Regions from separate parts of the Homo sapiens genome. Here regions 1 and 3 are each linked to region 2. Evidence: promoter capture Hi-C in 16 types of primary human blood cells and fetal thymus (Javierre and others, 2016). All regions are on one chromosome and are shown on one strand. Each heading gives the region's core, a stretch centred on a gene start or on the middle of the fragment in contact. The rest is flanking DNA. Distances are from core to core; before and after follow the strand shown.

The links. The method cuts DNA at HindIII sites, captures the fragments that hold promoters and counts their contacts. A CHiCAGO score of 5 or more calls a contact.
Region 1: a fragment that was not itself captured here is called in contact with the fragment with the promoter of MBD4 in region 2 in 1 of 17 cell types (activated CD4 T cells); the score reaches 6.1 in activated CD4 T cells.
Region 3: a contact is called between a fragment that was not itself captured here and the fragment with the promoter of MBD4 in region 2, in 1 of 17 cell types (activated CD4 T cells). The highest score is 8.1, in activated CD4 T cells.

What each region holds. Positions count from the first base shown.
Region 1 is chr3:127,592,407-127,596,394 of GRCh38, forward strand. It overlaps a transcript of TPRA1 not described here. Among named protein-coding and RNA genes, the nearest start is that of TPRA1, 3.7 kb to the left of the region's middle. The HindIII fragment of the contact is 1,507 bases long and covers 1,986-3,492 here.
Region 2 is chr3:129,438,617-129,442,454 of GRCh38, forward strand. It overlaps MBD4 (methyl-CpG binding domain 4, DNA glycosylase), which reads right to left and starts at 1,332. Exons shown (of 8, transcript NM_001276270.2): 1 at 1,114-1,332. The coding sequence starts at 1,217. IFT122 (intraflagellar transport 122) reads left to right here and starts at 1,608. Exons shown (of 30, transcript NM_052989.3): 1 at 1,608-1,755. The coding sequence starts at 1,715. RefSeq lists enhancers at 1,162-1,241, 1,332-1,471, 1,672-1,881, 2,032-2,081, 2,112-2,161 and 1 more. The HindIII fragment of the contact is 2,558 bases long and covers 1-2,065 here.
Region 3 is chr3:128,115,690-128,119,383 of GRCh38, forward strand. It overlaps RUVBL1 (RuvB like AAA ATPase 1), which reads right to left. Exons shown (of 11, transcript NM_003707.3): 2 at 3,639-3,694. Among named protein-coding and RNA genes, the nearest start is that of RUVBL1, 6.3 kb to the right of the region's middle. The HindIII fragment of the contact is 4,805 bases long and covers 1-3,694 here.

The DNA.
Region 1 (3,988 bases), core at 1,489-3,988, 1.8 Mb before region 2:
CTCGCTCTGTCGCCCAGGTCGGACTGCGGACTGCAGTGGCGCAATCTCGGCTCACTGCAAGCTCCGCTTCCCGGGTTCACGCCATTCTCCTGCCTCAGCCTCCCGAGTAGCTGGGACTACAGGCGCCCGCCACCGCGCCCGGCTAATTTTTTGTATTTTTAGTAGAGACGGGGTTTCACCTTGTTAGCCAGGATGGTCTCGATCTCCTGACCTCATGATCCACCCGCCTCGGCCTCCCAAAGTGCTGGGATTACAGGCGTGAGCCACCGCGCCCGGCCGCAACATGCTGTTTTAATGAGCGCCTGGGTGCAGGTGGGCTGAGGCCTAAAATGGCATCAGCCCCAAGTGAGGACGCGGCAAAGGTTTTATAGTCTCCTGTAAACAGGAAGTGTCCTAGTCTGACGTAACTGCTACGTTGTACCCGGATGGACTCTTTCTCGATCTTCACGGGTACATGTCTTCCCACCACGGTAGGTGTCTTCCAGCCAGCTCTTGTCCTGCTTCTGCTATCTTGCTGGCACAAGTAGCCTTGCACCTTGGAACTGGGCCTGAGAAGGGAGGAGTTATTCATCTTAAGCTTTCAGGCCCCAGGAAGAATCTTAAACCCTCTATTTTTATTTTTCTGCCTTTTGAGACTTGGAGAATTCTGCATTTTCTTCTCTTGAGTTTTGAACCCCATATCTAAGTTTCTGTGGGATTTTGTTGTATTTGTGAAATAACCAAAGGTATCTGCCTTTGAGAGCTGAGGCAGTGGCTAATTCACTGCAGTATCCACTACACACAGGACAGAGCGTGGCATCTGCAACATTAAATGAATAGTAGCTTAATAAACAGATCTGACTCTCAGGTTCTTCATCACCCTACAGCAGGCTCAGGGGTGGCCACGGCTGACAGTAGGAGATGCTGCTACAGAACTGGGCTCCCTGATAGCCATGGGGATGACAGCAATCCCCAGATAACAGACGCCAGATGGTAGTGCTTAGGCGTGAGAAGCAAAGTGGGTGCAACTGTCATAGGACCATCAAGATCAAGCTCAATATATCACTGGGATAGACATCCTGTGTAGTAAACAAAATGCCTGCACTGGTTCCTTGGTCTATGGGGTGAGAGTGATGGTAGTAAAAGTCAAGTGAAAGCCTCTGAGACCCCACTATCACCACCACCCACCCCGGCCAAGAGAGCAAGCACATAAACAACATCACACACCAGAGAAAATGGCGGAGACTGGTGCCACCCTTGAAGACCAAAGACGTGTGGAGGGTATCCCCCACCATGTACCTATTTAATTCATCAGTCTGACCTTATAAAAATAAACAGAGTGGCAATGGACTATTGCAGATTCAGCCAAGTGGTAGCCCTGACCACAGGTGCTGTGCAGGTGCATTGCTAGCACAGACAGATCAGCACGGCCCCCGCTTCTCAGGGGCCATCTGATCACCACACTTTTTCATCCCTATCAGGGACCATTTGCACTCATAGGAACGGCCAACAATACACACATATGGTCTTGCCCCAGGCCAATGATACCTTTCCCATCCTTTGTCATCACAGTCTGAAGGAGACTGGGCCATCTGAACGTCTTGCAGAACACTGCACTGGTTCATGGTGTCAATGACAATGTGCTAATCAGGATGGATGAGCAGGAGGTGACAAGTACATGGAAAACTTGATGAGACATATGTGCTCCAGCGGGCAGAAGATTAAACCCTATGAAGAATTAGGGGCTTGCCACATCAGTGAGGTTTGTAGGGGTCTGGTGGTGTGGGGCACACCAGAACATCCCCCTGCACACTCCATCACAGAAGAGCAAGCACAATGCTTAGAGGCCTCTTTGGGTTCTGGAGGTAGCAGATTCCACACCTGGGAGTGCTGCTCTGACCCACATATCTCTGGGTCACATGACATCAAAGGCTGTCCCTCAGGCTATGGGACCCACAGACCCCATGATACTAGAGGCATACATGGTGGGAAGATATGCTGTGTGAAGCTTACAGCAAGCTCTGGTGGGAAAAACCACAAAGTAGACCCCCTAGGGTTCTGGAGCAAGACCAGGTCATCTATAGTAGAGAACTAGACACCATTCACAAAGCAGCTCTGCCAGGCTACTGGACCCTGGTAGAGATGACTAGGGGACATCAAGTGACCATGAGGCCAGAGCTGCCCCTCATGAACTGGGTTCTGTCAGGCCCTCTAATATGTAAATTCAGGTGGGTGGGCCTAGCAGCAATCCACTGAGACTGTAAGCAATCCGTTGTACATCCACATCACCTACCACTGCCACAGCAGCTCCTCTGCCTCAGTTCACAACTACGCCAATGGGCAGTTCTTACGGAGGAAAAAGGCTGCGCTTGATCACAGCTGAGCTGGCTCAATACATGGGTCAGATGTAGTACCTGGATGTGCAGCGGTCGCATGGAGCCCTTGAGGATGAAAGCCACAGGCTACAGATGGTGGAACCAGAATGGGGAGGAGACTTGTCCTCGGCGATGTCCTGAAGCAGCTGCCCCAGCGCTGGATGCCTACTGACCTGGGAAGAGCAAACCCCAAGGTGATGTGTCCTGGAGCAAGTCCAGCATGACTGTTGGCTGGGGTCCCAGCTCCTCACTCCCCAAGCCTGTCCCAGGCTGCCTGAGTGTCCTCAAGACATGGATGCTGCCTTCTCTCAGAGTGAGCAAAGCTGCAGTCTTTTTGTAACTGAATCTCCAAAGTAACATCCAACCACATCTGTCCTATGCTGTTGGGAGGAGATCACACAAGGGTGTGAATACCAGAAGGCAAGGGCCATCAGGGCCATAATAGAGGCTGCCTACTCACCCCACCCACCTTTCTGTCTCTCCTACCCTGCCCCCAACCAGTGTTTAAACATGTCCAAGAACCTCTCATCTGAGAAAAAGCCATATCCCACTCCAGTGCCTGTCCCAGCTCTCACAGTCCATTCCACACCTGGGAATGCCTCTCTGACCCATACATCTTTGGGTGACATAAAAGCACTCCAGCCTCCAACTAGTAACTCACATTCACCCTTCTCACTTCCCTGCATCCTACCTGTCAACACACTTCAATGTAGTGTCTGACTCCAGACACACCGGCCAGCCCAGATCTGCTATCGCCAGGGCCACTAACAGCTCCTAGTCCTTATCAGATGACCTCTGGGCAGCCAGCTGACCCCATCCACCATCTTGACTGCTCTCTTCAGTGGCCTTTGGGAGGGCTCCTGATAATCCCCAGCCCTGCTAGGATCTCCTCTCCTTCAGTGTGGGCCGGACCTCAGGACTCACTTCTCGCTAAGAGAATATGGCAAAAGTAAAGGAATATCACTTCCAAGACATGGCATCTGTCTTGTATGGCCTCTCTCTCTTGTTCGCTTGCTCTGAAAGAAACCAGCTGCCAGGTTGTAAGCTGCTCTGTAGAGAGGCCCCCACCCAAGAGCCAGTGGGAAACTAAGTCTTCAGTCCAACAGCCTATGAGGACCTGAATCCTATCATGTGAAGAAGCTTGGAAGGGGATCCTCCTGAAGATGAGCCTTCAGAGGAGACAGCAGCCCTGGCCAATACCTTGCCTGCAGCCTTGAAAGACCTTGAAGAAGAGGCACCCAGTGGCATCGTGTCCAGATCCCTGATCCACAGACACCGAGACAGTGGGTGCTAATTGCTTCAAGGTGCTAAATCCCAGGATAATTTTTTTTTTTTTGAGATAGAGTTTCGCTCTTTTTGCCCAGGCTGGAGTGCAATGGCACAATTTCGGCTCACCGCAACCTCCACCTCCAGTGTTCAAGTGATTCTCCTGCCTCAGCCTCCTGAGTAGTTGGGATTACAGGCATGCGCCACTACGCCTGGCTAATTTTGGATTTTTAATAGAGACAGGGTTTCTCCATGTTGGTCAGGCTGGTCTTGAACTCCTGACCTCAGGTGATCCACCTGCCTCAGCCTCCCAAAGTGCTGGGATTACAGGTGTGAGCCACCATGCCTGGCCATCCCAGGATAATTTT
Region 2 (3,838 bases), core at 82-2,581:
AAAAGCTGGCAAGGCAAGGTGGCTCATTCCTGTAATGCTAGCACTTTGGGAGGAGGAAGTGGGAAGATCACCTGATCCCAAGAGTTTGAGACCAGCCTGGAGAGCACAGTGAGATCCTCGTCTTTGCAAAAAATGAAAAAAAAAACCCAAAAAAACAAAAAAAAACAAGCAACCGGGCGTGGTGGAGCATACCTGTGGTCCCAGCTACTAAGGAGGCCGGGGTAGGAGGACTGCTTAAGTCCGGCAGGTCAAGGCTTCAGGGAGCTATGATTGTGCCACTGCACTCCAGCCTGGGTGACAGAGCGAGACCTCATCTCAAAAAAAAACCCACTAAACTAAAACTTCATTAAAGTTCCAATGTGTCTTCTATGATGAAAACATACTTTTAAAATTAAAAAAAAAATTTCAGTAAAGTGTATCCTAATCACTAAACCACAGATTGTAAAAGGTGGATGGGTCTAGAGAGATCATTTAACCCAAGTTCTTTTCTACAAATAGGGAAACTGCAAGAACTAGAATTAGAATCAAGGTTTTCTGATGTAATTTGGGGTAAAATAATTTTGAGGAGCTGGATGGATCTTATGAAATGATATTGTTTACAATTTTAGAGATAAAAATACTGAAGCCTGGTGGAATCAGCACAAACTCTTAAGAGACTGGGGCTCAAATTCCAGCTCTACCAGCTGTAAGTTTAGCAGCAAGTTACTTAACATCTCAAAGTCTCGGTAAAAGACTCTGTAAAAAGAAGGTGATGCCTCTTTCAAAGTAGTTCTTAGTATTAAATTTTGAAAAAAGTAGGTAAATCTTAACCTCCTATCACACACGTAGTCTAATGACTTCCTAGGATCCTCCAACCCCAAGGGGACCTCTTTCACAAAACCTCCCGGCTCCCCCCCAGTCTCCCTAGTCATCTTAGATGAGGAAGTCGAGCGCACCCCAGGGCTGATCGCACAGGAAGAGCACCTGGGCTCCAGACCCTAGTAACTAAACCCGTGGGCTTCGAGGTTTCTGCCGACCCTCTGTCAAAGGTTAGAAAGGCCCACACACTGTCCACTCTCCCGATACCATTTTACAGGTGGTGAAACTGAGGCCCAAAAGGGGACAGTAACTTACCGGAGGTCATTCGGCGGGTCTGGGACTAGGCGCTCACTAGAGGTGACGGTGGGGGCAGCTCCGCGGTCCCCCAGACTCAGACTCTCCAGCCCAGTCGTGCCCATCGAGCAGGGTCCGGCTGCAGCAACGAGCCCAGCGCCGCAACGCCCAGGGTGTGGGGCGGAGTAAGATGTGAAACCTCTTCAGCTCACGGCACCGGGCTGCAACCGAGGTCTGAATGTTGCGAAAGCGCCCCAGACGCCGCCGCTGCTTTCCGGCCGCCCCCTCGGCTACAGCCGCCATTTCCACGCTCCACCAATCAAATCCATTCTCGAGGAAGACGCACCGCCCCCACACGCCCCGACCAATCGCTCGCGCTCTGGTTGCGCTGGCGCCTTAGGGGCTCCAGTGCCACCATTGCTTTTGCTGCTTTTCTGGCTTTCCCTTTCGGACATGCGCGCTCGGAGCAAGGCGCCCTCGCACTCAGCTTACCGCGCATGTACGTTGCCAGGGGTAACGCAGGTAGCCAAAGTGGCTTGTGGAGTGGCGACCGTTAGTGAGGCGGTTGCTGAGACAGACGCTGAGGCGGGTAGGAGGAGCCCGAGCCGTAAGGGAAGCCGTGATGAGGGCCGTGTTGACGTGGAGAGATAAAGCCGAGCACTGGTGAGGAGCGGGGCGGTTCGCGAAGAGCAGGAGGTCGAGTCCTCGCGGGGAGTGCGCGAGCCGCTGCAGCGTGTTTGAGGGGGGCAGCGGGCTTGCTGCCTGGGCCGAGGGCACTGAACCCCGGCCTGGGAGACTGCAGGGTCGCCCTCCCGCCCCTTGGCGGTTGGAGAAACTCCCGAGGGTTGGAGAGCGGCAAAGGGAGGTGCCGCGCCTGAGGTGGTGGCGGGTGGAGGCGGCTCTTCCCTCACGGTCTGGCCCTGTCGCTGCCTTGGATTCATCTCACACCCACGAGACAGCACGAAGCTGCTCAAGCTTCACAGTTCTTGCCACATCCACATAGTACCCATACTCTTGTTTTCTTGACGTTTTTCTCTAAATTGTCTCATTTATTTTAATTATGATTTCACATTTTACAAGGAAACTTTATTACTCCATTTATGAAAACCAGTGTCACTTGCTCTAAATGTTAAGATAAAATCAGCGTCGCTTGCTCTAAGTGTAAAAGTAAAACTTAAAGTAGGGAGAAACAAAACTGAACAAGCTGTAGCTAGCTATTGTTGCTAGGGAGCCTTTAAACCTGAGATCTCGTTTCTCTAAAACTGGAGATGGGCAGGTATGATCAGAAAGGTGCTCAAAATGAGCACCAAACACAAGCTCTCCTAATTGGGAAGTCTGAAAAAGAACTGAAGGGGAATGACTTTGTCACCTTTTGATTCAGTTATTTAATGTCCTATTCCATTGTTATCGCCTAAATCTATAACATAGCAGTCTGTTTTGTCATATTCTTACTTATGGGATAGGTCTTGGCCTGACTTTGAAAATCATTCAGCATTGTTGTGAAGCCTCTGTTCTGGCCACTGGAGCAGGTTACTTGTCTTTGGTTCTGTCCCTTCTGAGATCTTTCTCTGTGTAAAGCATGCCGTCTCTCCTCATCTCACACGGAAATCCTGAACATCCTTCAAGGCTCACGTTGGAGACGGGTCCTCTCTTTTGTGTTCGGCACTAGTGGTAGCTGACACTATGTGCCAGGTGCTGGCTAAGCACTTCATATCCTTTATCTCGTTGTGTCTTCACCACTCTCTAAGGTAGGTACTATAATTTCCTCTATTTTATGTATGAGGAAACTGAAGCCCAGAGAGGGTGGATAATTTGCCAGCGTCACACAGTGAGGGGTGGAACCAGCTTTCAAGCTCAGGTCTTCCTCACTCCAACGTCAACGCTCTCAGCCACTACATTAATTTTTCCTTATGTTACAGACGTGGCAAACTCAAATGTCTGCAGGAGACAGGCAGGTAACATAAATGGGAGATGTTTATTTGCATCTTCAACACTAGGAATTGTATGTTTTCCCTAGGAATAGTCTTGTATTCTGTACCCCATTTTTCTTGAAACACAGCCGTATCAGTGAATCTTTCATTTGTACTTTTAATAGAGATTTGAGTTTTAAAAAATCATTTTACTTTTAACTTTATTATAAACGTACCTATAGCACAAGCTGATGATAGCTGGCAACTGAACATTTGGCTTCAATGTCAGAGTAATAGAGTGTGGCAAACTGCAGAGCTCATGCTCGGCCTAAAAGGGGCAGCTGCTGCTCAGCTCCTGCCAATTACCACCATGCAGGAATTTGGCCTAGTGTGCTCAGCTCTTCCTGTTTTTACCAGAAGCTAGGAATCTGGGTTTTTATGTGAAATGGCCTAATTTTTAAATGTTAGCATCCACTCTGAAAAAAAAACAAAACACCGTGTGGGCCAAATAAAACATTTGCTGGCCGAATGCAGCCTGATTTGCTCTGTTTTCAACCCCTGGCACAGAATTTTGTTCATTTCTCTCTTGTGGTACTTCCAGAGTCTGTTGAGCATAAGAGTTAATTTTTTAAATCTGTTTAATTCAGAAGTCTAATAAACCCGTTAAAGGCAATGGCTATGTCTTACTCGTTTCCAAATTATTCTAGAGACAGGTCAGTGGTTGTTGTTACTATGGATAGTAATAAAATACTAGATATATATAAAACGAAATACTGTGGGTAGATGTATTCATACGTGAATGAATGATGAATAAAGATTGGTTTTCTGGTTTTTGG
Region 3 (3,694 bases), core at 481-2,980, 1.3 Mb before region 2:
CACTGAAAACCTCTCCTCTTACAAAACACCTAGAATTGAATAAATAATAACATTCAGAGCAGTAAACTATTTGCCTTGAAAGTTCAGAGACTGTAGATACAGGAAAGCTCAGCAAGGTATAGCACTTAAGATAGAAACCCCTGAATAAAACCGGGACTGGGCACGGTGGCTCAAGCCTGCAATCCCAGCACTTTGGGAGGCCGAGGCAGGTGGATTGCTTGAGCCCAGGAGTTCAAGACCAGCCTGGGCAAAATGGCGATACCCCATCTCTACGAAAACTACAAAAATTAGCCAAAGCGTGGTGGTGTGCACCTGTAGTCCCAGCTACTCAGGAGGCTGAGGTGGGAGGACCACCTGAACCCAAGAGGTAGAGACTGCAGTGAGCCGAGATCACTGCACTCCAGCCTGGGTAACAGACCACTGCACTCCAGCCTGGGCGACAGACTGAAACTGTCTCAAAAAACAAACAAACAAACAAAAACATTACAATTAAAAAAAAAACATAAAAGAGGACTCTTGAAGGGCCACACATGAGTAAAAAAGGTGGGCCATAACAAAATACATCTGGGGGCCAGGCACAGTGGCTCACGCCTGTAATCCCAGCACTTTGGGAAGCCAAGGCAGGTGGATCACCTAAAGTCAGGAGTTCGAGACCAGCCTGACCAACATGATGAAACCCCATCTCCACTAAAAATACAAAAATTAGCCAGGCACCTGTAATCCCAGCTACCCAGGAGGCTGAGGCAGGAGAATCGTTTGAACCTGGGAGGCAGAGATTGCAGTGAGCCAAGATCACGCCACTGTACTCCACCCTGGGCAAGAGAGCGAGACTTCATCTCAAAAAAAAAAAAAAAAGACATTATAACTTGTAACAATTTATGCAGTGTGTAATCTTTGATTGCATTTTGATATTCTGGTGTTTTTTAAAAAGCCAAAAACTGAAACAACTTGGAAAGATGTTTTCTGATTTCTATCACCTATATTTTCTTTTCATTAAAACAATTTAACTTCGTTGTCTTTGAAAGCACATTTGTTAACTGCTCATGGAATCATATGATGAGCTGCCAGGCTCCCTCATCTTTGTGATTTCTCTACCACAGTGGATATGGTTACCTACTCCTTTCTTTAAAGGTTCTCCTTTCTTGGTTCCTGAGACACCATTCTCTCCCTGGCTCTGCTGCTCATTTTTTAAAAATTAATTAATTTAATTTTTAATTGACAAAAATTGGGGGAATATAATAGCATTAGCAAGGTGGGTCTGATGATGGCACCGTGGTCATGTAGGAAGACATCCTTACAACTTACTGTCAAGTGGTTCAGAAATAAACTAGAGAAAAAGCAAATGTCACAAAATATTTATAACTGGCTATCTAGGTATAGGGTATAGAGGGGCTCATCACACTATTCTTTCAAGTTTTTTGTAGGTTCCAAACTTTTCAAAATGAAAAGGAAAAAAATATTCAATAGATTGGATTAATCAGTCACTTAATCATAGCTTAAGAGACAATTAGACTGGAACAAAGATCTAAAAGAAATTACCCATAATTTAGCAGAGTCAAAAAGATAACAAATATGAGAGGCTAAAAGACAAAGAGGACAAAACGAGAAGCTCTAGCCCAGGGTTTCTCAGCTTGACTCCATGACGTTTGTGGCCAGATAATTCCTTATTATGGAAACTGCTCTGTGCACTACAGGATGTTTAGTAGCATCCCTGGCCTCCACCCACTAGATGCCAGTAGCACCCCCAACCAAGTCGTGAGAACCAAAAATGTCTCCAGACGTTGTCAAAGTCCCCTGCAAGGGCAAAACTGCCCCAGGTTGAAAACCACTGCAATCTTAACCTCATCTCAGTGGAGTTCCAGAAGGAAAGAACAAAGAGAATGGGGAAAGGCAATAGCTGAAGAGATTAACGCTGACAGTTTTTTTGTTTTTTTTTTTTTTGAGACGTAGTCTTGCTCTGTCACCCAGGCTAGAGTGCAATGGCATGATCTTGGCTCACTGATACCTCTGCCTCCCAGGTTCAAGCGATTCTCCTAAGGCTGACAATTTTCCAGAATTGAGCAGAGACATAATACTCAGATTCAAGAAGCACAATTAGCATTAAGCATGATAAACAAAAATTAATCCACTCTGACATATAATAGTGAAACACCAAACCCAAAAATATCTCAAAAACATGCAGAAAGAAGACTCAAAACCCTCAAAATTAGACTTCTCAAAAACAACAGAAGCCAAAGGAGCAAATAACATTGAGAGAGAAGTACTGTGAAACAGTACTGAAGAAAATATCTGTCAACTGAATTATATAGCCAACATAGCTCTTTTTCAAAACAAGGGCAACATAATGAATGCAAACGTGAGAGACTTTCCCACCAACAAACTTCTAGAAGAAATTTCTAAATTATTTACTTTAGGAAGAAGAAAAATGGAGGGAAAGAGAAGGTCTAAGATATAAGGAATAGCAAGCAAATAAATGGTAAATGCACTGGACAAGCTAATGTTGCCTGGAGAGAGGTAACTGAAGCTCACATCTGTATGGCACTTTACAGTTTAAAAAACTGTTCACAATTTGCTTTTATATAGGAAGAGAAAAAACTGTTCACAAATATAGCACTTCTTCCTCTTGTAAGATACCAATATAAGATACACAATCAGTAATCATTTCAAAATTATAATGCAAGTCATTATCTTACAATCGATCAGTTTAATAATTGCTTGAAATAGGTAGAGTATGCTTTTGCTTAGAAAAGTTAAGGGACCTGCCTCAGGTCTCATAGCAAGTCAATACTAGAGCTGGAATTTAAAGCCCATTTCTTTTCACACACAACCCCAAGCTCCTACTTGCCCACATCAAGCGGCCCTTTTGAAGAATAAGCAAGCTCAAATTGGGAACTCTGGTGAGTTTCAAGTATCTGGCCAGTCCCCTCACGAATCCCAAGAAGCCACACGGTGTCCTCTGCCTGAAAGGCCCTTATCTTCCCTGCAAAGCCAAATCCTCTCCCAGCTCTGAAGGGAAAATGTCAAGTCTCAACCCTTCCAGCTGTACCAGCCCACAGTGCTGCCTCCTTAAATTCCAGCTGCATTTAATATTAGTCAATACCTCAAAGCTGAGCACTCATACTGAGTCCTCCTGTGCTGTCATGATTTCCTTTCTTTCTGCCCTGGAGAGACTGTAAGCCCCTTGAAGATAAAAATCATGTCTCTAATTCTTGTTTTCCTTTTTTTCATCTCCCACACAGCCACAATAGCGATGCGTAAAGCTAGCATTTGGAAGAATGCTTGACTCATTTTTTTGTCCCCTCAAGTAAGATGTCACTCAGAAGATCTTTATGAAGCCCTAGGCCAACAGAAATGTATTTCCACAGCAAAGGAGACTTGAAAGAGAAAAAGGACAAATTCTAGAGACAATGAGACCCCTTCAAGGACTTCATTCTTTCTTCTCTGGAGGTAGGCCAGGATAATTTGAATTTTAGAAGCAGGGATTTTAGATACCCAATTGTATTATTGCATATTAATTTTAAAAACATACATATAACCCATTTAGCTAAACAAAGACTAGTTAAGACATGAATTCAATTTGGCTTAGACACTAGGATCATTCTCCTGGGTAGATTTAAAAAATGAGAGAAAATGAGTACCTTGCCAGTTCCAGGAGGTCCTGCCAACAAGACAGCTCTTCCAGCCATTTTCTTGC